Regions from separate parts of the Homo sapiens genome. Here regions 1, 3, 4, 5, 6 and 7 are each linked to region 2. Evidence: promoter capture Hi-C in 16 types of primary human blood cells and fetal thymus (Javierre and others, 2016). All regions are on one chromosome and are shown on one strand. The core of a region is centred on a gene start or on the middle of the fragment in contact, and the rest is flanking DNA. Distances in the headings are between cores, read along the strand shown.

Region 1 (3,978 bases), core at 467-2,966, 260 kb before region 2:
CAGGCTTGGGGCCTGAAGGGCACACTTTGCTAAGGGTCTGAAGGGCCATGTGTGGGCTTGAGATGAGAGGCTGGCAGGGGTTGGGCCAGGACGATTCACTGTCCTTGTTCCCACAGGCCGAGCCTCTCCAGGCTGGAGCGCCAGCTGCCTGTGCATGGAGCCTGCAGATCTGGAACAATCTGCACTGTCGACACCCAGGGCCCCAGGACAGGGCTCTAAGGCCTCTCTTTTGTTCTCGAACCCTTGTGGGCCCACCAGCCCTCAGTTCCCTCAGTCCCACTCTCCCCAGGGAGCACCCCAAGCACTCCGCATGGGATTTCACAAGCACCTCCACGGTAACCTATCTCAAGTAGAACTCTGCACTAACTTCTTCCTCAAAACACAAAAACCTGGCTCACTGCCACCAGCCTGCCTCCCCACGGCCCCACGAGTGACTCACCCAGGATCCCACCCTCTCGGCACCCCCACCCCAGCTGCATCCAGTCCACAGCAAGTCCAGTCAGCGCTCCCTGCAAAGGCTCCCTGGCAACAGGAGTGTGTGCACTGCTGGGCGAGCGGGCCCCGCTGCCTCCAAGGCAACCACACCTGATCCGTTTCCAGGGGCCCACCACCCTTGGCCCTTCAGGAACACCCCACCCGGGTCCTCTGACCCTCACTTCCTCCTCATTCTCCAGGGACAGGCGAAGGGCCAGCGTGGAATTCACGTGAGGCTCAGGGCAGTGTTGGCCTCACTCAGACCTTTTCTTCCTTGGTGCTGGGTGTTCCCCAAGGTCAGGGCCACGCGCAGCACCGGTCCCAGGTGTCTGCTGAAGGAAGCCTCCTCCACTGGGGGTCCCACCTGCCACCCTCCCCTCTCTCCCCAGCTATGTGCAGGGGCCTCCAAAGCCACACCCTGGCCCCTTGACCGTCCCTCTCCAGAAACACTGATTACTGTTCTCCAAAACCCACCCGGGAGCCCACATCTACTGATTACGCCTGAGTCATTCGTTCACCAAGAAATATGCAGGGCTTCCTGCTTCAATTTGGGGAGGGCGAAGTGGTGCAGGACAGCGCCCCGATGGCCCCCTGGGAATCCAGAGAACATGCAGAGTGGGCGTGGGGGGTCTGGGCTGAGCAGAACCGGGCCTCCCGCCCTGCCTGCCCCAAAGCCCTGAGGGCTGCGGTCAGCTGCCCTTTCCCACTCAAACCCAATCTGGATTCCCAGCTCCTCTGCCTCAGGCCGCGCCCGCGCTGCGGTGGGGGCCGCCCGGGCCTCCCCGCCTGGACCCAACAGCCGACGTGGCCCCCGCCCCGTGACGATCAGAAACGTCTCCAAACAGCTCCCTCGGCCCTGGCTGCGGGACCAGCCCCGGGCCTGACCCCGGGCCACCCTCCCACTCCCCACGCGGGGGCACCGTGGCCTCCATGGGTTTGGCTCGGACCCTCTGTCCCCAGCCCGGCCACGCCCGCCCCCTGGGGTTGCCCTAAACCTGGCGGGGGGCTCCTCCGCCACCCGCCTCGCGTGTCTCAAGGCATGACAGGGGGTCCCGGAGAACCCTGCCTCGCCCGGGCCAGGAGGCGGCCCAGGGACGCCCACCCCGCTCCCCGGAGTCCGCGCGCCCTGTGGGGTCCGTCTGCTTGTGACACTAAGGGGCGCCCCGCGACGGGGGGGTGACGACCCCTACTCACACCACATTCCGCGCCATGGCGGCCACGCGCGCTTCCGGGGTCCGCGAGGCGGAAGGAGCAGCGCGCCCGCCCCGCACGGCCGCCGCCTGGCACAGCGCCCCCTCGCTTCCGGAGGCCGCGCCGCCCCCCCCGCACGCGCCAGCGCCCGTGCCGCGCGCCCGTGCCGTCCCCAGCCCTGCGCCCGCCCCGCCCCGCGCCGCCTTCTTCTCCCTCCCTGCCCCCCTCCTGTCCCGCACCCCACGTTCCTCCCCGCCCCGACCCCCACTCCCCGCGCCGCAGACTCCACAGGACGCGGGGCCGCAGCAGTCCCGCCCCGCACTCCCGGCCCCACAGCCTGAAGCCCGGGCCCGCGCCCCTGCTGCTCGCGCCCCGCCCACGCCCGCACCCCTCCCAGCCCCAGAGACCTCCCGCCGCCGTCGCACTCTTTCGGGCCTGTCTGCCCTGCCTCCCGGGACCCCGGCCTGCACGCCCCCCACACCCGTGCCCCTGCCCTTTGGCAGCTCCAGGCCACAGCCTGGCCCCGCACCGCTGCGCTTGCAGCTGCTGGGAGCTGGAAGTGGAGAACCGGGGCTGTAGTGCTGGGGAGGGCGGGTCCCCGGGCCTGGGGTCTGAAGCCCCTCTCTCCATCTGGCTGTTTTTACCCGGGAGCCCGGAACCCCAGGGCCCCTCACCTCGCCCTTCTGGCCAGCCCGGTTGGCAGCCCCCACGCTGGCCACACCAGCCACGCTGTCCATCCTCGGTGCTCCCACCACGCCTCCTCCAAGAGGGCCACTGGCCTCTTCAGGCCTTGCCGTTTGCTCACCCCCTCTCCACCCTTCTGGCCAGCCCCCTCCAGCCTCTGGCAAGGCCCTCTCTACAGGGACCCCCGTCCAAGGCCCAGTCCTCACTCCTTTCCTTGGGTAGTGCTGGCCAGGAGGGCTGCTGGGACCCTTCGGGAGTAGAGGGCAGCAGCCTCCCTCCCCTGTCCCCAGGCCTCTCCCTCCTCCCCTGGTTTCCTCTGCCTGGTGGCTGGATTCAGGCCACTTCTCCATCTATCTCTTTAACTGCCCGTGCCCCCCACCCCCAAGCCTGGCTTGTTCCCGCACCCAACAGCACCCTAAGTGTTCTTCAGAGCAAGAGGCAGGGGTGTCATGCTTCAGAGCAAGAAGCGGGGCCATGGGTCCTGGTTGTTGCTGGGGGCAGGGGGCCCAGGCCTGCAGGTGGGAACAGGGCTGCGGGAGGGCACTGGGGTTGATGGAAATTCAGGAGGAGGAGAGGGCACTGTGCCCCTCCGAGGGCCTGGGCCGGGTAGGGCTGGAGTTCCTCCTGATGGGTGGGTTTGAGTGGAAATGACTCCAGGGGGTCTATCTAGCATGAAGGCATTGAAGCAGGATGGAGTGAGAAGTGGGCCAGAGTGGGCAGGGAAGGTGGTGGCAGCCGTCCCCACTGTTGTCCAGGCCTGCGTGAGGTGGAGAAGCTCCAGGCTGCCAGTGGCAGGGTCCCAGGAGGCTGGTGACCAGACAGGCCTTTGCCCAGCAGCAGGTGCCCTTGGCCAGGCCCAAGGAGCAGACCGCAGGACAGGGATGGAGCTGGAGAAGGGGGGTCCTGGGGCCGGGGGTCCTCAGGCTTCCTTTTATGTTCATGCAATGCTGCCTCTTTCGGCAGCCACATTGTGCAGTGTGCTTAGAGATATGTGGCTGCTGGAAGTTGGGTTCAGAGTTGTGGGTGGCCGATGTGGAGAGGAGGGTGATTGGAGGCCGAGCTGTGGGTCACGGGTGGGTGCTGCTCAGATCACTGGGGCTGCTGGAGGGCGGCGGTTGAGCTAGGAGCTGAGGTCCTTCCTCAGGGCGAGGCAGGGGTGGGGTCACAATGGAGCAGACCCCTCACCACTCCTTCCATCCCTGTTTCTCTGATAGTCTGCTAATGGGATCCTCCGGAAGGCATGCTAAGTATGGGGGGTCTCTGAGATGCCTGGGGAGCCAGTGGAGACCTCCTCTTCCTCCTTCCCACCTGCCATTGAACACAAATGCCAGCGCGGCTTCCGCTCTGCCTGCCTCTCCTGAGATCAATGGTCTGCACGGGGTTGAGGCTGCCAGATAAATACAGGCCCAGTTAAATCTGAAGTTCAGATAAACAACTAATAAATTGTCATTTTATTTTTATTTGTTTATTTATTTGAGACAGAGTCTCACTCTCACTCTGTCGCCAGGCTGGAGTGCAGTGGCGCGATCTTGGCTCACTGCAATCTCTGCCTCCCGGGTTCAAGCAATTCTCCTGCCTCAGCCTCCTGAGTAGCTGGGATTACAGGCGTGCGCCACCATACCCGGCTAA
Region 2 (4,132 bases), core at 1,306-3,805:
AATCCATGCCTTATGGTTGGCGAGGGCTGCTGGGGCACCTGCCATCTCATCTGCATCCTGGGAAGCAGGAAGGAGCACAGAGGAAAACACAAGCCTGCTCTGGCCAGCTCAGTGTGCTCCTTCCAGAAACAGGTAAACACAAAATTACCCTGCGAAGCCGCCATTCCATTCCTAGGTCTATCCCCAAAAGAAATCAAAGCAGGGACTCAAATACTTGCACAGCCCTTACCACGACCTGGATGTAGTCAGTGCATCTGTTCCCAGCAAAACTCTTGTTGAAACGGGACCCCCAGTGTGGCAGCGTAGGGAGGTGGGGCCTGAGGGGAGGGAGACGTGTGGGTCGTGGGAGTGACTCCCTGGGGAGTCCGTGGTGCTGGGAGTGATTCTCCTCTTGTGATACAGGGTGAGTTCCCATGGGAATGGATTTGTTCCCATGAGTGGGGCTTGTTCTGAAGCCAAGACATCCCTGAGCTTTATCTCTCTTCCCGTGTCTGCTTCCCCTTTGACCTCCTCCAGCAGAAGCCAGGGCCATGCCATTGAACTTCTCAGCCAGCAGAACTGTGAGCTTGATGAATTACCCCATCACAGAGGTTCTTTTATGGCTACACAGAATGGACTCAGACACCCATGCTCACAGCCGTGCAGTCACAATAGCCCAAAGGTGGAAACAACCCAGCAGGTGAGGGGATCTGAAATGGGGTAGACAAACACATCGGGGTCTTACGGAGCCTGGAAAAGGAGTGTGCTCTGACGCCTGCAGCAACGCCACCAACCTTCACAGCCTCGTGCCGAGTGAAGCCAGCCAGTCACAATAGGACCAATGCTGTGACCCCACAGATGGAAGGCCCCCAGAGGAGTCAGATTCAAGAGGAAGATGGCAGAATGGTAGTCAGCAGGGCCAGTGACAGAGGCCGATGGGAGTGAGTGATTAGTCAGGACGGAGCTCCAGTTTCGCGCGATGAAAAGGTGCTGGAGCTGCATGGTGGCGACAGTGGCACAGCCACGTGCAGGTTCCCAATGCCACGGAACTGTGCACTTACCATGGGGATGGTGGGAACTCTCATGTACCCGCATTTGACCAGAGAGGAAGGAAGGAAGGGAGGGGGGAGGGAGGAGGGAGGGAGGTAGCAGAGAAGGAAGGAAGGAAGGGAAGGGGGAGGGAGGAGGCAAAGAAGGAGGGAAGAGGGAGGCAGGGAAGGGGGGAGGGAGGGAGCAGAGAAGGAAGGGAGGGAGGCAGGGAGGGAAGAAGGAAGGAAGGAAGTGAGGGAGGGAGGAAGGGAGAGAAGCAGGAAGGAAGGAAGGAAAGAAAGAAGGAAGGAAGGGAGGGAGGGAGGAGGAGGGAGGAGGAAGGGAGGGAAAGAGGGAGGGAGGGAAAGAGGGAGGGGGGGAGCAGAGAAGGAAGGAAGGAAGGGAAGGGGGAGGAAGGAGGCAGAGAAGGAGGGAGGAGGGAGGCAGGGAAGGAGGGGGAGGGAGGAGGGAGGGAGGGAGCAGAGAAGGAAGGGAGGGAGGCAGGGAGGGAAGAAGGAAGGAAGTGAGGGAGGGAAGAAGGAAGGAAGGAAGGAAGGACGGACCAGCCTGTTAGGCTGACTGACAGAGTACCCCCTGTCCTCCAATGCTGCCCACGGCAGGCATGTGGCAGTGGCTGACAGGGAGTGAGTCTGGAAGCGACCCTTGTCGGGGCAGCCTCCTTGGTCCTGTGATTCAGGACAGGGTGAAAGTCAGTGGCGGCCATTGGTGCCTCTGGCTGGGGTTCCTCACAGGGGCCCGCAAGGGGACAGCGAATGGAGCGTGGAGGGTGGAGGGCTCCTTCTCCGGACCGGAGCGATGGGTTCGGGAGCCATTCTGTGCCTGTCTTTGCTGCTGGGCTGAGGAGCTGGATGGCATGCTGGGAGTAGTGGGAGCTGCTGAGGAGTTTGGTCCTGGAGCGAAGAGGCTGAATCCGCATGTCTGGAGTCACCGTGGAGGGCACAGCTAGAGGGAGCAGCAGGGTGTCCCAGGGAGAAGACACCAGGGCTGGAATTAGAGGGACATCAAGGCTGATACTTAGAGGCATCCAATATATGGGGCCTGCCTGATGGGCTGCTCTCAGGTGGGATTTGGGGGGTGTGAGAGGGGTCAGTGCCCAAATGACCATGGGGTCCGTGGCCTGTATGCCCAGTCAGGTGACGACGCCATTCAGAAAGTAGATCTCATGGGGTGCCCGGCTGCTGAGTCTCAGGCCAGATCTGCAATGAGTGCGCTGCCCCAGGCGTGGAACACTCTGGTGCCATCGGGACCCAAGGCTGAGTGCACCCAGGAGCTGTGGGTCTGAAACAGCGGTCAGAGGTCACCGACATGTGAAGGAGGCCCCTGGAGTGTCAGAGGTCACCGACATGTGAAGGAGGCCCCTGGAGTGTGGGATACAGAACCCCCAGGTGTCCAGCTAGGCAGGAGGCTTTGCAGGACTGAGCAGGTGGGGAGGAAGGGCAGGGAGCGCGGCTGCCAGAGGAGAGAGGGCACTGGGGGTGGCTCGACCTGACGAGGCTGCTTGAAGGAGACACTCTTGGAAACTGACAGGGCTGCAGGCACTCCTGGGAGCAGGAGGAGGGTGGCCTGTCCTGGGCAGACCAGCCTCTCTGGGCTGTGTGGCCCCAGCTCCCTGAGCCCAGAGGGAGGTGAGGGTGAGAAGGCCTGGACCAGGCAGGACGCAGCCCCCAGGGCCCCTGCTGGGAAGAGGTCAGAACCTCCCAAGGACCCAGAAGGCCAGGTAACTGAGAACGGGGCTGCTCTCTGAATCTCCAGGGAGGACAAAGGCGGCCATGGCAGCAAGGGGACAGGGCAGAGGGGAAGGCGGGCAGGTGGATGTTGGAAGCCGCAGATTCCCATCCAGTATCCTAGAGGAGGAGACCCAGGGCTGTGTCCTAGGAGGCCCAGGAAGCCTGGTCAGCCTGGAGGCTGAGGGCGGGCCCGGGAGATCTGGTAAGGACATCAGTGTCTCCACGAAGAGCAGCAGGGTCTCAGCCCATGGCAGCCGCAGGCCCCATGACTGGGGCCGCAGCCTCCAGAGCCGCCACAGCAGCCCATTGTTCTGGGGGGTCAAAGGTGGAGGCTGTCAGAGGGGCAGTGCAGGGGGCTGCTGGGGTGAAGCCCCCTGTAGCAGCAGCACCCAGCCTGCTGTGGCTCTGCCCTCCTGGACCCCCTGTCCTCCTGGACCCCCTTCCCTCCTGGGCCCTCCTGGACCCCCTGCCCTCCTGGACCCCCTGCCCTCCAGGACCCTCTGCCCTCCTGGACCCCCTGCCCTCCTGGACCCCCTGCCCTCCAGGACCCTCTGCCCTCCGGGACCCCCTGCCCTCCAGGACCCTCTGCCCTCCGGGACCCCCTGCCCTCCAGGACCCCCTGTCCTCCTGGACCCCCTGCCCTCCTGGGCCCTCCTGGACCCTCTGCCCTCCTGGACCCCCTGCCCTCCTGGACCCCCTGCCCTCCAGGACCCCCTGTCCTCCTGGACCCCCTGCCCTCCTGGGCCCTCCTGGACCCTCTGCCCTCCTGGACCCTCTGCCCTCCTGGACCCCCTGCCCTCCTGGACCCCCTGCCCTCCAGGACCCCCTGTCCTCCTGGACCCCCTGCCCTCCTGGGCCCTCCTGGACCCCCTGCCCTCCTGGACCCCCTGTCCTCCTGGATCCTCTGCCCTCCCGGACCCTTTGCTGTCCTGGGTCCTCTGCCCTCCTGGACCCCCTGCCCTCCTGGACCCCCTGTCTGTGGCCCCTGCTCCCCTCCTCCTTCCCCGACACATGACTGGACCCCCCGATCTGCAGCCGGGGTCTGGGCACTGGGGGTCCTGTGGGCCTCTCGGTGTCTGGGGACAATCACAGGTTCCCGTGCCCACACCCAGCCTCTGCTTCCAGAACACACTAGAGGGTCCCGGCATCCTGATGAGTCCACTGTCCCCGCGATGGTTTTCAGGGATGGAGAAGGCTCCCTGTCCTCCGCTGGAACCCTGCAGCCGGGCTGACGGTACCCCCACCACCCACCCAGGGGCCCCCAGACCCTCCCCATCTCCACCGCCAACCCAGGCCCCGGCTGCGCACGCGGGGCCAGGCCGTGAGCTGCTGTCCCCGGATGGGGCCGCCCCGGGCTGGCCTGGCTCACTCCGTGT
Region 3 (4,066 bases), core at 1,528-4,027, 500 kb before region 2:
TCTGGGAGTTGCCTTTTTACGGTTGATGATGTCCTCTGATGCACAAAGTTGTTTGTTTGTTTGTTTGTTTGTTTTAATTTTCAAGCCCAATTTATCTCTTTGTTGCTTGCACCTTTGGTGTCACATCTGGGAAATCACTGCCAGGTGTGAGGCCATGAAGCTTTTGCCCTGTGTGTTCTCTCTACCGTCTCAGGCCCTACGTCCAGGCCGTTGACCTGTTTGGGGGTAATTTTTGGATGGGAAGGGAGGGTTCCAGCGTCACACTTCTGCATGTGGGCATCCCGGTTTCCCAGCCCCGTCTGTGGAGGAGGCTGTCCTTTCCCCACTGAATGGCCTTGGCACCTGTGCCAAAGATCACGGGACTGCATTTGCCAGGGGGATTGCCAGTCTCTCCTCTACGTATTTGTGAATAGGGATCTATACACATTCCACGAACACACAACAGGGCCACGGGACAGCCCTGTGCCAGGTTCCTACCTCCCCGCCCAGAGGCTGTGTGGATAGAGCACACGTGTGTGGGTATGGCATGTGTAGTATGTGGTGTGTTCATGTGTGTGACATGTGGAGTTGTGTGGGGTGAGTGTGCTGTGTGTATGATGTGTGTTTGTGATGTGTGTGGTATATGGTGTGTGTGGTATGTGTGGAGTGTGTGGGGTGTGTGTGGTTGTGTGTGTGGTGTGTAGCGTGTGGTGTGTATGTGTGTGGTGTGTATGTAGGTAAGTGTGTTGTGTGTGCGGTGTGTATTGTGTGTAGTGTATGTGGTGTGTGGTGTGTGTGGTGTGTGTGTATGATTGGTGTAGTTTGTGTGGCATGTGTGTGGCGTGTATGTAGGTGTGTGTGTTGTGTGGTGTGTGTGGTGTGTATGTGTGGTGTGTGTGTAGTGTCTGGTGTGTGTGTGGTGTGTGGTTTATGTGTGTTGCATGTGGCATGTGGTTTGTGTCTATGTGGTATGTATGTAGGCGTGTGTGGTATGTGCGGTGTGTGTGGTTTGTGTGTGTTGTGTGTGGCGTGTAGCTTGTGTGTATGTGGGGCATGGTATGTATGTAGGTGTGTGTGGTGTTTGTGTGTGGTGTGTGTATGGTGTGTGTGGCATGTAGCTTGTGTGTATGTGGTGTGTGGTGTGTGTGTGTGGTGTGTATGTGGCATGTGGTGTTTGTGTGTGTGGTGTGCATGTGCGTATGTGTGCGTATGTGGCGTGTGGTGTTTGTGTGTATGGTGTGTATATGTGTGGTTTGTGTGTGGTGTGTTTGTATGTGATGTGGTGTGGTGTGTGTGGTGTGCATGTGTGTGGTGTGTATGTGGTGTGTGTGGTTTGTGTGTGTTGTATGTGGCGTGTGGTGTGTGTATGGTGTGGTGTGCATCTGTGTGTGTGTGTGGTGTGTGGTGTGTGGTGTGTATGTGGTGTGTGGTGTGTTTGTGTGTGTGTGTGTCTGTGTGTGTGCACGCACTTAGATATCTTGTGTTCGCAGCTTGTCATGGAGAGCAGTCAGTCCCTGGCTGCCTGGCGCCGCTTCCTTCTCGGGCTGCCATCCTGGGAAGGGCCCCCTTCGCCCGGCCGTGCCTCCTGCTCCTGCCTCTGCTGCCCTTCGAATGCAGCCGCCCTTTTCAGCAGCCTCTCCAGGGAGGCCTGGGTGGGCCGCCCTCATCTTTTGTCTCCTCAGCGGGGGTTGCAGTGGCTTCACCTGGAGGCTCCGAGGGAGCACACGTGCGTCCTCTGGGTGAAGGCTGCCCAAGTGCTTGCGTCTGGGCGCCATCCTGTGGTGCCCACAGGGATATCAGGCTGAGAAGGCCTTTGTGCTGGGGTCCTTTATAAAATAAGCTTACCGGGGCATCTACGGCAGGTCAGAGTCAATATTCAAACGTGTTGTTGTCTAAAAATGCCTGGAAATTTTACTCCTAATGTCAAAGGAGGCCCCTCCCATGGGCTCTGAGACTGGAGCGTGGGGGTTGTGAGCAGAAGGACGCAGAGGAGGGGAAGTGCTAGAGAGTGGGGGGTCCGGCCCACCAGGGGCCCTGCGTTGGCAAGACCTGAGGTCATGCCATCATTTTCAGGCAGTGGGAGCCATTGAAAGTGCTTGAGTAAGAGAGTGGCCAAGGCAACGTGCGTTTGATGAAATCAATGAAGCACCTGTATTGGGAGGTGTTTGCTGGAAAGAGATAGAGTGAGGGTGGCTGGGAAGAACCGTGAGGCCTGTGTACACATTTCAGGGGTCCTCACTAAGCCTGGGTGTCTCATGGAGCTGTGGCAGGCTGCATGGACCGTGGGATTTGTTTGGACTCCCAGCTCTCCGTGGGGATGTGGAGAAGGTGAGAGGCCCTGGGGCTGAGGGGGCAATAGCCTGGATCGGAGAAGGTGGCAAGCAGAGGTCAGATGGGGAGGGACTGGAACGCCCCAAACCACAGCCATTTACACCTGGGTGCCAGGTGGGAGCCAGGAAGAGGGGCCAGGATGTTGGACGCCAGCTCCACCCCGTGACTGCTCCCTGCCCAGGCGGACAGTGGGGAGGGGGCATACAGCACTCTGAGGATCATAAGGGTGGGGACCCCAGGAGCTGAATCTAGAAGGAAAGGGCTCCTTCCAGAGGAGGTCATTTGGAGATCCTGCCATCCCCACCCCCTTCCAAACAGCCAAACCCGCTCTGGCACCACCGCCTTCCCTATGCCCCCACCCCAGCTCCAGCTGAACGCCCTCGCCCAGCTTCCTTGGGAGACTGCCAATCTAGGCTGAGTTTTGCAGCTCCTTCTCTGGAGCGCGAGCCAGGCGCAGGCTCTGACACTGTCAGGGCAGCGGTAATGACATCGGCCTCGAGTCCAGGGCCAGCCCAGGCCCCCTGTGCCCGTAGACGAACCCTCAGAGGATGCAAGCCTGAGGGTCCCCATTCTGGTCCGAATGGGAAGCCACTCCAGAGGCGCGCTGGCGCAGGGGGCGGGGATCCCGAGGTGGCCTGGACAGAGTCAGCCTCCTCATGTCGCCCAGCCCTGGCGCCCAGGCCCTCCCCAAGGAAGGTGGGGTGCATGGCCTGCCTGCTCCCTCCGCAGGGCTCCCTGCGGCATCTCAGTGCTTGTGGAGCTGACAGCTCTCTCTGCCTTCCTAACCCTTGATCCCTTTGATAAACATCAAAACCTCAGCATCAGCATTGCCTGGAGGCCATGCCCTCCATGCTGCCTCCCCTGCACAGGCACTCACAGATACATTCACCCCAATTCAGAAGATTCTGCCCAGCCCACCATCTGTGGTTTGTAAAAGAGAAACAATAGACCATCGGTTGCTATTGCTTCTAAATGCAAAACTGCGCTATGACATTACATGTGCTTTTCTGGGAACACAGTCCCCTACCCCAGTGTGCACGAGAAAGGTGCTGGTGCTTCCCTTCTTTGGGGGAACATTGCTGTTTTTGGGGTAGGTTGTTGGACAAGATCCGGATGGCAGAAACCACAAAGGAGACGGTTGACAAGCGTGGCTCCCCGAAGCCACATCATTGCCAAGCCTTCTTGATGACCACAGTCTCCATAAACACGGTAAAGGGTGGACCAGGCTCTGGGAGATGATACTTCCTGCCGAAAAGGATTCATGTCGGGAATGCGTAAAGAATTCCCACATCTCATCAGGAAAAGTGTAAGCTCCAAAGGGAAGATGAGGGGAGGAAGTGAAGGGATCGTTCGAGAGAGGGAGAAGTAGAGATGCTCGGGAAGCAAGCGGACCTGAGATGCCGCTGAAGTGTCATTCAAGCTTTGTAATGTCGGGCGTGGATGATGACCTGGAAGACAGACGCTGTTGGGTCGCGCTGGCGGAGTGTGACGGGAGAGGTGCTGGGGCATTCCTAAGAACATGAATGTGGGCTCCCAGAGCTCATAAGCTCATGATTTCCCTCCTCCCCAAAGGGGCTCACCCTCCAGTATCCAGGCTGGGGGGCCAGGAGCACACGCACCTTTTTATATTTGTGTTTGTGCACGTGTGTATGTGTGTGTTCAAAGGAGAATCTGTTGCTCATGTAACTAAAATTAAAAATAATATAGATGTAGAGAAATTGGAAGTCTTGTGCTCTGTTGGGGGGAGTGTGTAATG
Region 4 (3,626 bases), core at 765-3,264, 320 kb before region 2:
CCCATGGCCCAGGACCCAGAGGAGCTGCAGGCTTAGGGCCCAGGGCCAGCAGGCTGAGCCAGGGACGGTGACACCAGGCATGCGCAGCAGCAGCACCCAGGCAGCACCCCAGCAGATGCCAATGTGGTGGCCGCTTCCACCCACTGGTCACGTTGCAGCCGGGTGAGTCTGCCAGGGCTGCCGCAACAAACCGCCATGGACCGGGAGGCTTAAATGAGGGAAATATATCCTCTCCCAGTCCTGGAGGCTGGAGTCCAAGATCAGGGCTGCTGCAGAGCTGGGTCCTCCAAGGCCTCTCTCCTTGGCTTATAGATCCTGCCTTCTCCACATGTCCTCACGGGGTCATCCCTCCGTGTGTGTCTGTGTCCTCCTCTCCTCTTCCTATAAGGACACAGTCCTATGAGACTGTGCTCACCCCTGCTCACATCAGGAGAACGGTCCTGTGTCTCCTCTCGGGACCTCATCTTCATGCCTCCCCCTTGGTTACCCCACGGTCAGGACTCAGCCACCAGCGTGAGCCCACACACCGGCTCTGGAGTGGTGGGCACAGGTGAGAGGGAGGTACAGCTGCCACAGCCAGGAAACCCCAGGACGATCCTGAATGGGCCCAGAGCTGGCTTTTCTCTGTCACGGAGAGAGACATGAGAGGGTCATGAGTGTGAAGATCGCCAGCTCCCAGGGTCAGGGCCCAGCCTCCTTCCATCTCACTGCTCTGGACTCCTCAGTTCCTCATGGAGTCTGTTTAGTGCCTCTCCAGAAAAGACAAGTTGAAGCCCTGACCACCAGCATCTCAGAGCACGAACTCATTTGGAAATAGGGTCATTATAGACGCAATCGATCAGGTCAGACTGCAGTAGGGCAGGCCCTGAATCAAACATCATGGTGTCCTCACAGGTAGAGGAGAGGCACGAGAGAGCAACGCTGCGTGAAGGCGCAGGATGAGAGCATCCTGGAAGATGGGCACGGCTGGGGTGACAGGTCTGGGAGCCTGGGAACACTGGGAAAGTCGGCCAGCACTGGAGCCTCCCTTAGAGCTCGAAGAAGGAGCCAGCCCTGACCACCCCGACTCTGACCTTCTAGCATCGAAACAGGGAGAGACGCATTCCACGTGGTTGTTCCAATCAGCCCAGTTTCTGGGGCTTCCTTATGGCAGCCTCAGGGAACTGGCAAAGCCCAAGTGGGCTATCCCATTACTTATATCTGGGTAGGTCCCAGCCACAGGGGAGAGAGAAGAGAAAGCCCCTCTATCTAATGACACGCTGTACTCATGTCCCACCCGCATGATGTGCCGTACCCGTGTCCCTATCCAGGTGACGTGCCGTACCCGTGTCCCACCCGGGTGACGTGCCGTACCCGTGTCCCACCCGGGTGACGTGCCGTACCCGTGTCCCACCCGGGTGACGTGCCGTACCCGTGTCCCACCCGGGTGACGTGCCGTACCCGTGTCCCACCCGGGTGACGTGCCGTACCCGTGTCCCACCCGGGTGACGTGCCGTACCCGTGTCCCACCCGGGTGACGTGCCGTACCCGTGTCCCTATCCAGGTGACGTGCCGTACCCGTGTCCCACCCAGGTGATGTGCTATGCCCATGTCCCACCCAGGTGACACGCTATACCTGTGTCCCTATCCAGGTGACACGCTGTGCCATGTCCCTATCCGGGTGACACTGTGCCATATCCCTATCCAGGTGACACACAGTGCTCATGTGTCTATCTAGATGACAGCACCGTGCCCACATCTTTATCCCGGTGACAGCACTGTGCCCACGTCCTGTCTTGGTGACATCACTGTGGTTATATACCTGTCCATGTGACATCACTGTGCCCACATCTGCCTCCAGGTGACAGCGCTGTGCCCACATCCCCACCCAAGTGCTCTGGGCACCTTGGCTGGGGCTCTGGCCACTTTCATGTTGGTGCCACCCTGTGTGTGGATCATAGCACCCAGGCACTCACCATTACCGTGGCCAGCACAGACCAGACCCGACCCCAGTAGTCCTCAAAACTAGGTCCCCTGCTGGGTGCGGTGGCTCACGCCTGTAATCCCAGCACTTTGGGAGGCTGAGGCGGGCGGATCACAAGATGAGGAGATCGAGACCAACCTGGCTAACACGGTGAAACCCCATCTCTACTAAAAATACAAAAAATTAGCCGGGTGAGGTGGTGGGCGCCTGTAGTCCCACCTACTTGGGAGGCTGAGGCAGGAGAATGGTGTGAACCCGGGAGGCGGAGCCTGCAGTGAGCCGAGATCATGCCACTGCACTCCAGCCTAGGGGACAGAGCGAGACTCAAAAAACAAAAAAACAAACAAAAAAAAACTAGGTCCCCTGTGCTGTGCTGCTGTACCCCAGCAGTCGCTTCACTGGCAAGACTACTCTTAGCAGGTGCGCCTGGAAGCAGAAACTGGGCAGCTCCCGGTCTGTCCTATACACATGCAAATGCCCCATTAGAAAGCAAATAGCCCGAGGTGTTTGCCTGCTCCCAGGCAAAATCTCCCAAATCTTCCTCCGGGAATCAGTGAACAGAAGAGATGTCCATCACCCCCAGGAGAGTAGTGTCTGAACCCGTCTAACCGCCCAACAGGTTCTCCCTGCCGCCGGTCTGGACAGAGCTGCTTTATCACAACAGGTGACTTGCAATAAAGTTTAATTCACACAGAGTCGGCCGTGCAGGAGACCAGAGTTTTATTATTACTCAAATCAGTCTCCCAGGAAATTTGGGGATCAAAGTTTTTAAGGATCATTTGGTGGGTAGGGGGCGAGTCAATAGGGAGTGCTGATTGGTTGGGTCAGAGATGAAATCATGGAGAGTCAAAGCCATCTTTTTCTGCTGAGTCAGTTCCTGGGTGGGGGCCACAAGACTAGATGAGCCAGTTTATCAATCTGGGGGGTGCCAGCTGATCCACCCAGTACAGGGTCTGCGAAATATCTCAACCACTGATCTTAGGTTCTGCAACAGTGATGTAATCCTAGGAGCAATTTGAGGAGGTTAAAAATCTTTCAGCCTCCAGATGTGTGACTCCATGACTCCTAAACCATAATTTCTAATCTGTGGCTAATTTGTTAGTCCTGAAAGTCTAGTCCCCAGGCAGGAAGAGGGTCTGTCCTGGGAAAGGGCTGTTATTGTCTTTGTTTCAAAGATAAACTATAAACTAAGTTCTTCCCAAAGTTAGTCCAGCCTGCACCCAGAAATGAATAAGAAGGCAAGACAGAGTTGGTTACGTCAGATCTCTTTCATTGTCATAATTTTCTGTTATATATTTTTTTTTTTTTGAGACAGAGTTTCGCTCTTATCATCCAGGCTGGAGTCCAATGGCTCGATCTTGGCTCACTGCAACCTCCACCTCCGGAGTTCCAGTGATTCTCCTGCCTCAGCCTCCCAAGTAGCTGGGATTACAGGCGCCCACCACCATGCCCAGCTAATTTTTGTATTTTTAGTAGAGATGGGATTTCGTCAGGTTGGCCAGGTTGGTCTTGAACTCCTGACCTCAGGTGATCCACCCACCTCGGCCTCCCAAACTGCTGGGATTACAGGCATGAGCCACCACCGCCGGCCGATTTTCTGTAATAATTTTTGCAGAGGCGGTTTCACCAGGAGAACCAAGCATTAATGCGCTGTGGCTGATGT
Region 5 (3,956 bases), core at 1,146-3,645, 420 kb before region 2:
TCAATGCCACCAGAGTGAGCTTCTGCAGGCCTCAGCGCCCCAGCTGGGCTGTGGCAGCCCTTTGAAGGCCCTTGACCTGCCCAGCATGGCTGCCAGCTCCTGCCCACTCCCATTGTACCCCATGAGAAGCCCAGCTAGTTTGTGTGCTCTGGGCTGGGTCTTGGCAGCCTGGGTGGAGCAGCTGAGCCCACCGTGGCAGAGAAGGGTGTGTGCTGGGAGCCCACCCTCCTCTGACCTGCACGGCTCCACTGGTCAAGCGCGAAGCCCAGGGGTTCCTGGCGGGGGAGTTGCAGCCTGGCCGTTTCCTGGAGGGCTGGGACTGCCCAGCCCAGCCGAGGGCCTGGCTGCAGCGCCACCTTCTAGGCAGCCCGCATGCTGAGGCCCCAGCCCTCCCCTCATGTTCAGGGAAGACCAGCTGCTTCCTGTTTGTGTGAAGAATTCGGCTGTTTTCCCGAGTGGTGGGTGAGGGTCCAAGCACCCAGTGGGACGGTCGCTCCTCGTTTCTGTGGGGCCTGCTGTTCTGAGGAGAAACTTAATCACTTTGTTTTCTTGGTTTAGGTTTTGCTTTTTAATAATAAAAAAAAAAAAAGACCCAGCTTGTCTGCAGCCCCAGGGCCCTGTGACGTTCCTGGCATAACAGGCGTTACTTTTACACGGGCTGCTGCAGTGGGCGGCTGGCCGGGAGCTCCCGGGGAGGGCAGTGGGTCTCATGGACTCGGCCCTGCCCAGCTGGGCGTGGGCACCGCTGCCCGAAAGTGGGGGGGTCTGAAGGAGCCGACCCCTGCGTCCCGTGCTGGCTCAGCCGGGCTCCCTGAGGGCCCTGACCCTCTCCCAGCCATGGGTCAGTGCTGGGGAGAAGGTTCTCAGATGCCGGGGAGGCCTGGGAAGGAGAAGAGCCTGCAGGCTCCCTCAGCAAGGGCTGGCAGGTCTGGGAACCGCCAGGCCACCTGACTTCCAGGGCAGCCCCTCCGGGAGTCAACACCCGCCCCCTCTCCCAGAAACCCAAGCCAGGAAAGATGGGGGACAGAGCCCTGGCACCCCCACTCTTTCTGGCACTCTCCCCTCAGAGGCCTCAGCTGCTGGACAAGGTCCTGGGCTCCCTGGGTTGCCCTCTTGGCCCAGGCTGGGGATGGAGAACAACGTACAGTCGGTGCCCTGGTGTCCCCCAGGGCCTCAGGATGCCTCCCCCACCCTCCACCAGCTGTTCTGCCTCCCAGCCGGGCCCTTCCCTATCCCACCCAAAACGCTGGCTCTACCCTTCCTGCCCTGTGGCTGGGGAATCTGCAGAGTCATGGGGCCAGGGAAGGGGACAGTAAGGAGGGACCCCTCGTCTATCTCAGCACTGGAGGGGTTCAGGGTCCAGGGCTACCCCAGAAACAGTCACTGTCTCACTGAAGAGCTCCAGGCACACCTTGCCCCTGGCGCTCAGGGTGGCCTGAGCTGAGCCTATTGTGGGGAAGGAGGAGGGGGCTGGAGGTGTTGGCTGGGCCAGGTCACCAGGTGTCGGCAATGGAACCACAAGAAGATGGTCAGTCTGGGGCTACCTTGCCCACTGCTTCTCTCACTTCATGTCATTTGTGGAAGAAAGAAGAGCATGTCAGCTGCAGGTCATGGTAGCCATGGGCCTAGATCTGCACTTCCAGGAATTCGGCCACTGTGCGGCCCCCCTCACATTAACAGGATGGATTTGTGTAACCAACAGTGGGAATGACGGCGGGTGACTTCTGAGGCCAGGTCATAATTGACACTGCAGCATCCTTCTTCTTCCCCCACCTCTCTCCCTTCACTCCCTCTGGGGAAAGCTGGCTGCCATGTTGTGAGGATGCGCAAACCTCAGAGGTTTGTGTGGAAGGACTGAGCATCCCTCCGACAGCCACACTAGGTTGCCAGGCATGAAGGGGACACTTCAGTCCAGCAGGACCTTCAGATGGCTGGGGCCCAGGGCTGGTGGCTTGGCTTGGGGTGTCAGGGGGTGGCAGCCAAGCCAAGCCACAACCACCAGGCTAAGCTGCTCCTGTACTCCTGACCCACAGAAACTGAGATGATAAATATCCATCACTTTAAGTCTTTATTGTTTTAAGTTTTGGACTAATTTATTCTGCAGCCATAGGCAACGAACACCGTCTTCTGGCAGGGGTGAAATAGATGCAACTAGACCAGAGGGGACAAGGCTGGTGCAAGGAAGGCTTGTAAGGACGGAGAGTTGGAGGGGAGCTCAGGAGTCCTGGCCTTGGGTCTGGCCTGGCTCTGAGGCTCAGCAGCTGTGAGCGCTGGACAAGTCTGCCTCCCACCCAGATTAGCCTGGGTGATGAGTGTGGTGTGTGGCAGAGGCGAATAGCCTATGATCACACAGGGAGGACCAGTGTGAGTCACACAAGGGACAGCAATCAAGGGTGACATTGGAGGAACTTGGCTTGTGGTATGGGTACAGGGGACACCAGGGAAGCCTGCAGATGGCTCAGAGTGGCCAAGTCCCCAGAGCAGGCACAGAGGAACAAATCAGAGCATGGCTCAAAACAACGGGCAGCCAGCACCTGCACAGTCCAGCTGGGTACATCTCTTTTTGCCCTTTCAACACCTGGGGCCCAGCAGTTGTTCTCAGGTCAGTGTGAGTGGTCTGGGAAGACAGCTGCCCACCTGGGCCTTTCCACTTGGCTACGTTCCTGGCTGGCATTCAGAGAAAGGGCATCCACCCATCCATTCATCCATCCATGCATCTATCCATCCATTTATCCAGGCATCTATCCATTCATTCATCCACCCACCATCCACCCATCCATTTATACACCCAGTCATTATCCATGTATTCATCTATCCATCCATCCTTTCTTCCATCCATCCATCCAAGCATCTATTCACTCACTCCTACATGTATCCATTTATCCATCCATCTATCCATCCATCCATGCATGCATCCACCCATTCATACACCCACTCATTCATCCATGTATTTATCTATCTATCCACCCATCCATGTATCCACCCCTCTATGCATCTATTCATCCATCCATTCACCCACTCATTCATACATCCACTCATTCACCCATGTATCTATCTATCTATCCATCCATCCATCCATGCATCCACCCATCTATGCATCTATTCATCCGTCCATTCACCCACCTATTCATACACCCACTTATTTATCCATATATCTATCTTCCATCCATCCATGCATCCACCCATCCATGCATCCACCCACCCATTCATCCATCCATCCATCCACCCACTCATTTGTTCATGTATCCATCCACCCATCCATCCTTCCTTCCATCCATGCATGCATCCATCCATCCATCCATGCACCCATCCATGCATCCATCCATCTTCCTTTCCTTCCTTCCTTCCTTCCTTCCTTCCTTCCTTACTTCCATGAATCCATGCATCCACTTATCCATCCATCCATCTGTTCATCCATCCATCTGTTCATCCACCCATCCATGCACCCATCCATGCACCCATCCATGCACCCATCTGTGCACCCATTCATCCTCCCTCCCTCCCTTCTTCTCTTCCTTCCTTCTTTCCTTCCTTCCTTCCTTCTTTCCTCTTGCCCTCCCTCCCTCTCTTCCTTCCTTCCTTCCTTCCTTCCATGGATCCATGCATCCACCCACGCATCCAGCCATCTACCCAGCCAACCATTTACCCATCTACATACCTTTCTAGCCCCCACCACATACTCACATGGACATCTGGGGGAGAGCATCTCATGGCAGGAGCAGCGGGTACAAGGCTTGTAGAGAGGTGATGTGGCGTCTCTGAGGAGTGGTGGATAGGGAGGAAGCATGGGTTGTTGAGAAACACACCTGAGAAACCAAGGGGAGCTTGCCCAGGAAGGCATCAGGAAGCCCTGAAGGGGATGCAGCTTTTTCTTGGAGAGAAGTGGGGCTAGTGGAGGTCTCTGCTTAGGAGTGAAGGGATCCTGTGGCTGCTGAGTGACCAGAGTGCAAGAGGAG
Region 6 (3,992 bases), core at 352-2,851, 400 kb before region 2:
GCGCTGGCTGACCCCTGCAGGCCCTCCAGGCCTCCTACGTCCAGTGTCAGCAGGAAATTCCAGGCTGCAGTGGTCTTGGTGGGACCCTGCAAGGTGGCGGCCACTCTGAGCCCAGCCCCAGAATCCGATGTCTTCAAAGCTGCTGTGGCTCTTGTCCTGCCCTCAGCCCTGGACAGCCAAGCCCTGGACATACAAGTGTGCGCATAGACACGGCCCGCTTGCCTCTGTGCGCACTTGCCTGTGGGGATGGCAGTGGCGGTGGCTTTTCATCAGTCCAGATGTTGGAGGCTGCATAGCCAGATGAGCAGGCCTGTGGAGGGGGCCGGGGGGCCGGGAAGCAGGCTGGGGTCAGAGAGCCGATAACGTCACAAGGCTGAATGGGAGTTTTGTGGCCCAGTGTCTTTTGGAAATGATGTGCAAAGCCCAGTTAATCCAGTGGGTAGGGCGTGGTGGCTCCTGGGTGAGCCGAGAGGGGCCAGGGGTCAGGAGGCTACCAGGTGGCCAGCAGGACAGGGGGTACCTGCTGAGCAGACCCCATGCCCGCCCTCCCCATGGCCTTTATGAGGACTGGAGCCCCCTTTAAACTCAGGCAGCTGCTGGCCACAGGTCTGCCTGGCCCTGCCATGCGGGGGTAGGGAGTCCAGGACCAGGCATCCTTACGACAGGGTCTGTTGGCCCAGCATCAACAAGGGGCAGAGGGCAGTGAGGCTTGTGCTGCTTGTGGCTGTGCCCTATTTAGAACTTAGCCCCTCACCTTCCTCCCCTAGCTGAATTATTTTTGGCATGCTTGGTGGCCTCGGGGTCTTCATGCTGACTTTAGGAGCCAGATGGGGCTCAGCTTCCAGGTGGCCCTGAGCAGCAGCATCGGGGGTGTTGGAGGGTGGGGCATGAGGGTGGCAGGCCCAGCTGGCCAGGCCTAGGGGGGCTCCAGATGAGTCACTGCCCAGCTTCCAGGACCCAACCCACCTCTGCCCTTACACTCGCCCCTCATCGGGTGGTAGCATTCCTCGGGACCCTGGACTCAGAACACTCTTTAATTTGATTCCCAGATCTGAGGGCCTGAACTGTCAGCTGGGGACATGAGGATCCTATACACCCATCTATTCACTCTAGCAGTGAATCTGCTGGCACAGAGGCCACAGCCTCTCTAGAGGCCACACCCTCTCTAAGGCCACACCCTCACTAGAAACCACACCCTCTCTAAGGCCACACCCTCACTAGAGGCCACACCCCCTCTAAGACCACACCCTCTCTTAAGACCTCACCGTGTCTAAGGCCAGCTCTCTCTGAGGCTCTAGGCGGAACCCTTCCTGCATCTCTCAGCTCCTGGGGGCTCCCGCGGTTCCATGCTATGTGGTCCCGTTCCTCTCATCTCTGCCTCTGTCTTCACACTGCCTCCTCCGCCCCTCTGTCATCAAATCTCCAGCTGCCTCCCTCTTATAACCACCTTGTGTTGGCGTTTATGGTGTTCAGATGGTCCAGGACCGGATTGCCATCTCAAAGCCGTTCACCTCCTCACACCTGCACAGACCCTTCTTCCTCATTAGGTCACATTCAGAGATGAGGATCAGACACCTTTGCGGCCATTAATTCCACCTGCTGGCTCCGAAGACGAGCGCTTCTGCTCTGGGCTGTGCTCCTCTCCTACCTCCTCTGAACCACATCCACGGGACTGTCCCACCTCCCCAAAGCAGCTCTCTTCAAGGCCTCTGGTGGCCTCTAGGTGGCCAAACCCACGAGTCCTTTCTTGGCTCTGTTTTTCCCCAGACAGGGCAGTGCCTGATGCAGGCAAACACCCGTTACCCAAACCACACTGCTCCCTGGGCCCCTGGCTCTGACTGCCCGGCTGCTGGCTCATGCCCCTTTCTTCCCTTTCTGTCCCACCCCATTTTCAGAGCTGGCCTCCACACCTTCCATGTCTGGGTGGTCCCTGCCCTGCCCTCCGGGCCGACTGCCCAGCTCCCCACATCTCCTGAGGCCTCCTGGGACTCCAGAAACCGCTCAGCCCTAGCCCACCAGCCCTGCCCTCACCTCCACAGCCCCTCCTTGCGCGGCCAGGCTTTCTGCTCAAAGGCCCACATCCTGGGGCCACATTTTTTTTTAGATCAAGCATTTGGATTTTCAAAATTAATTTTATCGTGTTTTATTACAATTGGTTTTAGTCGTGGGATCGAGGAAAAATGTACACAGCTCCAAGCAGATATTTGGCAATAGGGTGTTCCACATGCGGATCTGACGTGGTATTTTAGGGTTTGTGGTCTCCAGGTCTCTGTTGTAATGACTCAGTTCCACCATTGGAAGCAACCTTAGGCCATACATAAAAATGATGGGGGCAGAGTGTCAATAAAACTTTATTAACAGAAGCAGATGACGGCCCGGTGCCCAGTGCCGGTCTGGTGTGCACGAAGCAGCAGAATCAAATGCCCGGCACTGGGTGGAGCCTGAAGGAGGCGTGTGGGAGGGGGGCGCTCCCGAAGAGTTTCAAAGACGCTAGGGGATTTTCTCACAGCTAGGCAGGATAAACGGCTTTCCTATTTGCTTAAACAGTGACGAACTTTTCTAACTGCACCAAATCGAGTAACCTGATCACTGCCAAATCCCCACATGATAGTCTAAAAATAGATAGGAAAATATGGATTCCTTTATTTATTGTGGCAAAATAGACACACTGTGAATTCGATCATCTTCACCGTGTTTAAGTGCACTGTTCTGTGGCACTATGTACATTCACGACGTCGTGCAGATGTCACCGGCATCCATCTCCAGAACTTTCTCACCTTCCCACACTGAACCCCCACCCCCATCGAACACCGACTCCGCATTCCCTCCCCTAGCCCCTGGTACCCCTGGCGCTTTCTGTCTCTATGACTTTGACCACTCTAGAAAGCTCGTGTGAGTGGAATCATGGCGTTTGTCCTTTGGTGACTGGTTTCTTTCTTTTTTATTTGTATTTATTTATTTTGAGACAGAGTCTCTCTCTGAAGCCCAGGCTGGAGTGCAGAGGCGCAATCTTGGCTCACTGCAACCTCCGCCTCCTGGATTCAAGCAATTCTCCTGCCTCAGCCTCCCAAGTAGCTGGGACTACAGGCGCCCACCACCACGCCCAGCTAATTTTTGTACTTTTAGTAGAGACAAGGTTTCACCATGTTGGCCAGGATGGTCTTGAACTCCTGACCTCAGATGATCCACTCACCTCAGCCTCCCAAAGTGCTGGGATGACAGGCATGAGCCGCCGCGCCTGGCCGGGGACTGGCTTCTTTCACTGAGCGTAGTGTCTTCAAGGCTCCTCCACATTGTCGCATGTGCCAGAATTTCCCTCTGTGTTACTCCATTCTCGCACTGCTATAAAGAAATACCTGAGACTGGGTAATTTAGAAAAAGGGGGTTTAATTGGCTCATAGTTCCGCAGGCTGTATGGGAACATGGCGCCAGGCATCCACTCGGCTTCCGTGGAGGCCTCAGGAAGGTGAGAAGGTGATGGGGAAGCTGGTGTCTCACATGGCGGAATCAGAGAGACACAGCAGGGGAGGTGCCACACACTTTTAAACAACCGGATCTGGGGAGAACTCACTCAGTATTGCAAAGACAGCACCAAGAGGATGGTGCTAAGCCATTCATGAGAAATCCACCCCCGTGATCAAATCACCTCCCACCAGACCCCACCTCCAACACTGGGGGTTACAATTCAACATGAGATTTGGGTGGGGACACAGATCCAAACCATATCCCCTTCCTTTTCATGGCTGAGTCATGTTCCATTGTATGGATGGACCCCATTTGCTTAATCCTGTCATCAGATGGTAGACATTTGGGCTGTTGGCCCTTTTTGGCCAAAGGAGATGGAGTGCTATGAGTGTTCATGCACGCATTTGCGTGTGGACTTAGGGTTTCATTTCCTGTAGGCACATTCCCAGGAGCGGGCTTGATGGGTGGAATGGCAACCGTAGGTTTACATGTGTGAGGAGCCCACGGCCCCATAGCGTTGGCACCAC
Region 7 (3,727 bases), core at 911-3,410, 340 kb before region 2:
GGTCCGCAGCCCCTCTGCTCAAACCAAAGCTTCCCAAACCCACCCACATTTCCCCCCAGCTGTCCACTTGCCCAGGGCCTGTGGGCCTCGGTCAAAGGCAAAGGGGTCCCACTTGAAGAAATCCGAGTAGACGATGAGCCATTTCACAGAAGGGTCCCCTGAGGCCACCTGGAGAGACCCCTGAAAAACCCCCTGGCCACCTGGGGAGCCCCCTGCCCACCTGGAGACCCCCCTGGCATCCTGGTCCATTGCAAATGAGCTTTTATTGACAGCTTTTCAGGAGTGGACGCAGGCAGGCATGGGTGTGGATGCCCTGTTGGGGCACAGGTGCAGACATAGTGGGCCATTTCAGCAGCCGCCTGGGGAGCCCCGGCCCCGACACCTTTGGGCAAGGCCTCTGCTTCCTGGTGCAGTGTCTGGGCACTGTGTGTTCCTGGACTTCTGGGGCTCAAGGGAGCTGGGGCGGCCCCAGGGGCCCTGCCTCTGACACTGAGGCCTTCAGGTGACATGCTGGGCTGAAACCTGTGCCGTCCTCCTCTCTTGCCTGCCCCTCCAGACCTGGCTGTCATCTGCTCGGGCAGGCCAAGGGGGCTGTGGCCTTGTGTCCCTCCCCTGCTGAAGGCCCAGGACCCTCCTCAATTCAAAGGTCAGTGTCCCTCAAAGCAGCAGGCTATGCCCCACCCAGCACCACCCCCCACAGCCCCACACCACAGCACTGGACAGGTGGGAGCTCTCTCCACCTGGGGCCTGGCACAGTGTGGAGTGGCAGGGGCTTCCAGGGGAGCCCTGGAAGGATCTGGAAATGGGTGAAGGTCAAATCCCAAAACTCCATGCTGCCCTGAAGGGGAGGGTGAGGCAAGAGGCCTGGCAGCCCCCAGGACGCCTACAGCTGCTAGCCACGTACACACCCTCCTCCGGGCACCGCCAGCGCTGTGGCCTGTGCCTGTCCGTGTGCTGGTCCTGCGCCCGGGGGCAGTGGTGTGAGGACTGAGACTGGAGGCCTGACTGCCTGAGACCCCTGACCCCTCCTTGCTGTGTTGAGCCAAATGTGAAGCTGGGTATCCAGCCAAGAGGCAGCCCTGGAGCCCAGACCTGGGCCCCGCTCCCCAAGGAGCACATACTCCCGGCTTGCCGTCCTGGCACAGCTCAATGACACACGCTTTCCAGGCCTGCCTGGTGTTTGCCCAGGGAGACTGCAAGCTCTCTGCAGGCAGAGCCCACTGTCCCTGGAGCACTGCTCCCAAGGGCTGGCCAGCACTCCCATCTGGCACCCAGCTCTGAGCGTCCAGGACCCTCCAAGCCCCCAATGCCCCCATCCAGGCTGAAGCTCACCCTTGAGCTCCAGGTTGGAGGGGAAGACTGTCGACCCCAGGTCAAAGGCCTGTGGTCAAACAGAACCCACCCGAGCCTACAGGATTTAGCCAGACTTTAGCTTTTCTGTGTTCGCCGGCCCCTGTCTCTCCCAGCCCCAACTCCAAGCAGGCAGAGCTGGTAGCCCACTAGCTCAGGGAGGTCTTCTGGTTTCTGTCCCCGCCTCACCAGGAGCAGACTGGGACAGCTCTGGGTCTTGACAGGGGCTCTGCCCCGAGGTGGGTGGGTAGTGCCAGCTTTGCTTTTGGGAGCTCAAGCCAGCCCGGGTAACCTGTCTCCTGAGGACCCGGGCACTCAGACACTGGTGCTGACCCCCAGCACCCTGGGGCTGGAGCAGCTTGGCAGCCTCTCCAAACCCTGCGCCCATTTCTTACTGTCCCAGGAAGAAAACAAGCCGGGCATGCGGTCAGCTCCTTGGGCGTTTTCAGCCCCGGGAAGCACTGACCAGGGTGTCTCCCCAGAGGACACAGAACCAGCCCCAGCAGTTTTCGGAAGCTCACCCTGGCAGTCCTGGGAAGCCAGCCGAGTGGGCTGGCTGAGAGGGCGGTCCGTGCCATGGGTGGGGGTTTGGGCTGAGTGAGCAACCTGGGGTCTTGCAGGCCAGGGAGTCAGCCCAGCAAACAGCCCTAAAGTGGGGCTCTTGGGGACAGAAGGACGTTCCCTTTGAGTGTTCCAGGTGGCTCCAGAGCTGGCTGGGTTGATTGGTGGAGCTCCCTCCTGCTCCATCTTACTCGCCCTGCTTGTGCCACAGCTCCCCCAGCCCCCTCCGTCTTCCCCACTCGCTCGCTCTCCAGGATGCAGTGGTGGGGGGGGGTCTAAGTATTCACGCTGAGGCTTGGAGCCCTCCTCGCCAGGTGACCTGCTGGAGAGAGAAACCCCCCACCAGGGCAGCACTGGTTCCCTTGGTCTCTCCTGGAGTGGAGGAGATGGCGCAGGGGCACGGGGCAGGGCAGAGGGAACACGGCTGACTGCCACTCATGCCTGCAGAGGCTCGGGGAGTGCCGTGTGTGCTGAGCCGCCTGCCACCCATTTGTGATGAAGACTGCCCCTCCCCACCGTCCCGAGCCAGCCTAAGGAGGGCCCAGCCTCCCTCTAAAACAGTCTGTAGCTCACTCTCATCCTGTGCCAGCCTGGCGGCCTTACTAGCTGGCAAGGGAGGAGGGACCTGATTTGTCCTCCAAGAGCTGCTGAGCCCAGCCCCAAAGCCAGGGCTTCACAATGGAGGCACCAGAGTGGCCTCTCGAAGGGTCTGGGGCCCCCGCGGTGTCGTCAGAGGGGGCTGAGGTTCCCTCCAACCCTGGGGCAGGGAGAAGCTGCAAAAGCAAAAGGGAATACCAGGGCCACCTGGCCCACCCTGCATGCCCCGGAGGAAGGGCCGTTTCCCCTACCCTCTCCTGGAACCAGGGTGTGGGGAGACGGTGACATGGGGGCCTCGAAACTGCCCGAGGGCCAGAACCCGTGAGCTCATGGGCAGAAAGGGGAGCTGGACGGGCCTGGGCTGGCCTCTCTGCTCCCTTCCTTGCTGCCCTTTCTGGGGTCTCCAAGTGCCTGGCTGGCGCCTGTCCGGGCCAGGCGTCTACATTCCCTTCCTCTTTGGGAAGAGGACAGGGAAACTGACGCCAGGCCCTGAAATAGCCACCGTCCTTCGGCCTGAGCGCCTGTGCAGACGGCTGTGCTGATTGGCCCCCCTTGGTGGGCACAGGTGGCCCTGCAGTGGACAGGCCCAAAAAAGGCCAGCAGCCTCCCTGGGCGCTCTTGTGCCCCACACGGCCGGTGCCTGAGAGCTGGGGATGAGGCTGGCAGTGATGTCTGCCCCTGCAGGGGGCGGCCCGGGCCAGGCTGGTATAGCAGCTGGGACTGCCATTCACAGCCAGTGGAGACCAGTGGGATGGGAGGGGCAGCTGAGCCAGCAGGACCGGCGAGGGCACCGCCTGGAGAGGACAGGCCTTGGTGCTGGCGTGGGCAGTGGCGAGATGTTGCCTAGTCCATGCTGCCCAGAGCTCCATCTCCCCGGCCAGTCCCCATCCGGCCCTGAGCCATGGGACGTGTGCTGGTGGCCCCTGCAAGCCCGGCCCCGGGCTGAGCCTGTGCATTCTCAGAGGGAGGAGCCCCAGGTGCCTGCTGCAGAGCTGTGGGCCCAGTGGGCAAGGGTGCAGCCCCGTCAGACCACATGCTTGGTGTCTGAGAACCCGTCCCTCACAGGCCTGAAAGCCAGAGGTCGGGGCAGAGGGTGAAGCCCGTGAGCCTGGCAGTGGACGGGCGGCGGACTGGCCGTGTGACGGCATCAAGCGGCAGCTGCCCCCGAGTTCCACTTGTGTCACCTCAGCAGCCTGGGCCCTCCACGGCGCCTGACTGC

The links. The method cuts DNA at HindIII sites, captures the fragments that hold promoters and counts their contacts. A CHiCAGO score of 5 or more calls a contact.
Region 1: a contact is called between the fragment with the promoter of MRPL23 here and the fragment with the promoter of FAM99B in region 2, in 10 of 17 cell types (M1 macrophages, neutrophils, monocytes and 7 more). The highest score is 9.6, in M1 macrophages.
Region 3: a contact is called between a fragment that was not itself captured here and the fragment with the promoter of FAM99B in region 2, in 2 of 17 cell types (M2 macrophages and M0 macrophages). The highest score is 6.5, in M2 macrophages.
Region 4: a fragment that was not itself captured here is called in contact with the fragment with the promoter of FAM99B in region 2 in 17 of 17 cell types (M0 macrophages, neutrophils, M1 macrophages and 14 more); the score reaches 16.8 in M0 macrophages.
Region 5: a contact is called between a fragment that was not itself captured here and the fragment with the promoter of FAM99B in region 2, in 3 of 17 cell types (M0 macrophages, M2 macrophages and M1 macrophages). The highest score is 9.6, in M0 macrophages.
Region 6: a fragment that was not itself captured here is called in contact with the fragment with the promoter of FAM99B in region 2 in 3 of 17 cell types (M0 macrophages, M1 macrophages and M2 macrophages); the score reaches 7.9 in M0 macrophages.
Region 7: a fragment that was not itself captured here is called in contact with the fragment with the promoter of FAM99B in region 2 in 5 of 17 cell types (M0 macrophages, M1 macrophages, activated CD4 T cells and 2 more); the score reaches 7.7 in M0 macrophages.

What each region holds. Positions count from the first base shown.
Region 1 is chr11:1,945,070-1,949,047 of GRCh38, reverse strand. MRPL23 (mitochondrial ribosomal protein L23) reads right to left here and starts at 1,716. Exons shown (of 5, transcript NM_021134.4): 1 at 1,669-1,716. The coding sequence starts at 1,685. The HindIII fragment of the contact is 42,193 bases long and covers 1-3,978 here.
Region 2 is chr11:1,684,052-1,688,183 of GRCh38, reverse strand. FAM99B (family with sequence similarity 99 member B) reads left to right here and starts at 2,555. Exons shown (of 3, transcript NR_026642.1): 1 at 2,555-2,746; 2 at 3,882-3,990. LINC02708 (long intergenic non-protein coding RNA 2708) reads right to left here and starts at 554. Exons shown (of 3, transcript NR_187232.1): 1 at 230-554; 2 at 1-119. RefSeq lists an enhancer at 2,450-3,219. The HindIII fragment of the contact is 16,209 bases long and covers 1-4,132 here.
Region 3 is chr11:2,184,549-2,188,614 of GRCh38, reverse strand. No RefSeq gene overlaps it. Among named protein-coding and RNA genes, the nearest start is that of MIR4686, 14 kb to the right of the region's middle. The HindIII fragment of the contact is 1,911 bases long and covers 1,822-3,732 here.
Region 4 is chr11:2,003,438-2,007,063 of GRCh38, reverse strand. It overlaps a transcript of MRPL23 not described here. Among named protein-coding and RNA genes, the nearest start is that of H19, 7.4 kb to the right of the region's middle. The HindIII fragment of the contact is 6,201 bases long and covers 1-3,626 here.
Region 5 is chr11:2,106,107-2,110,062 of GRCh38, reverse strand. No RefSeq gene overlaps it. Among named protein-coding and RNA genes, the nearest start is that of MIR483, 26 kb to the left of the region's middle. The HindIII fragment of the contact is 9,248 bases long and covers 1-3,956 here.
Region 6 is chr11:2,086,895-2,090,886 of GRCh38, reverse strand. No RefSeq gene overlaps it. Among named protein-coding and RNA genes, the nearest start is that of MIR483, 45 kb to the left of the region's middle. The HindIII fragment of the contact is 7,456 bases long and covers 1-3,992 here.
Region 7 is chr11:2,027,376-2,031,102 of GRCh38, reverse strand. No RefSeq gene overlaps it. Among named protein-coding and RNA genes, the nearest start is that of H19, 31 kb to the right of the region's middle. The HindIII fragment of the contact is 4,258 bases long and covers 32-3,727 here.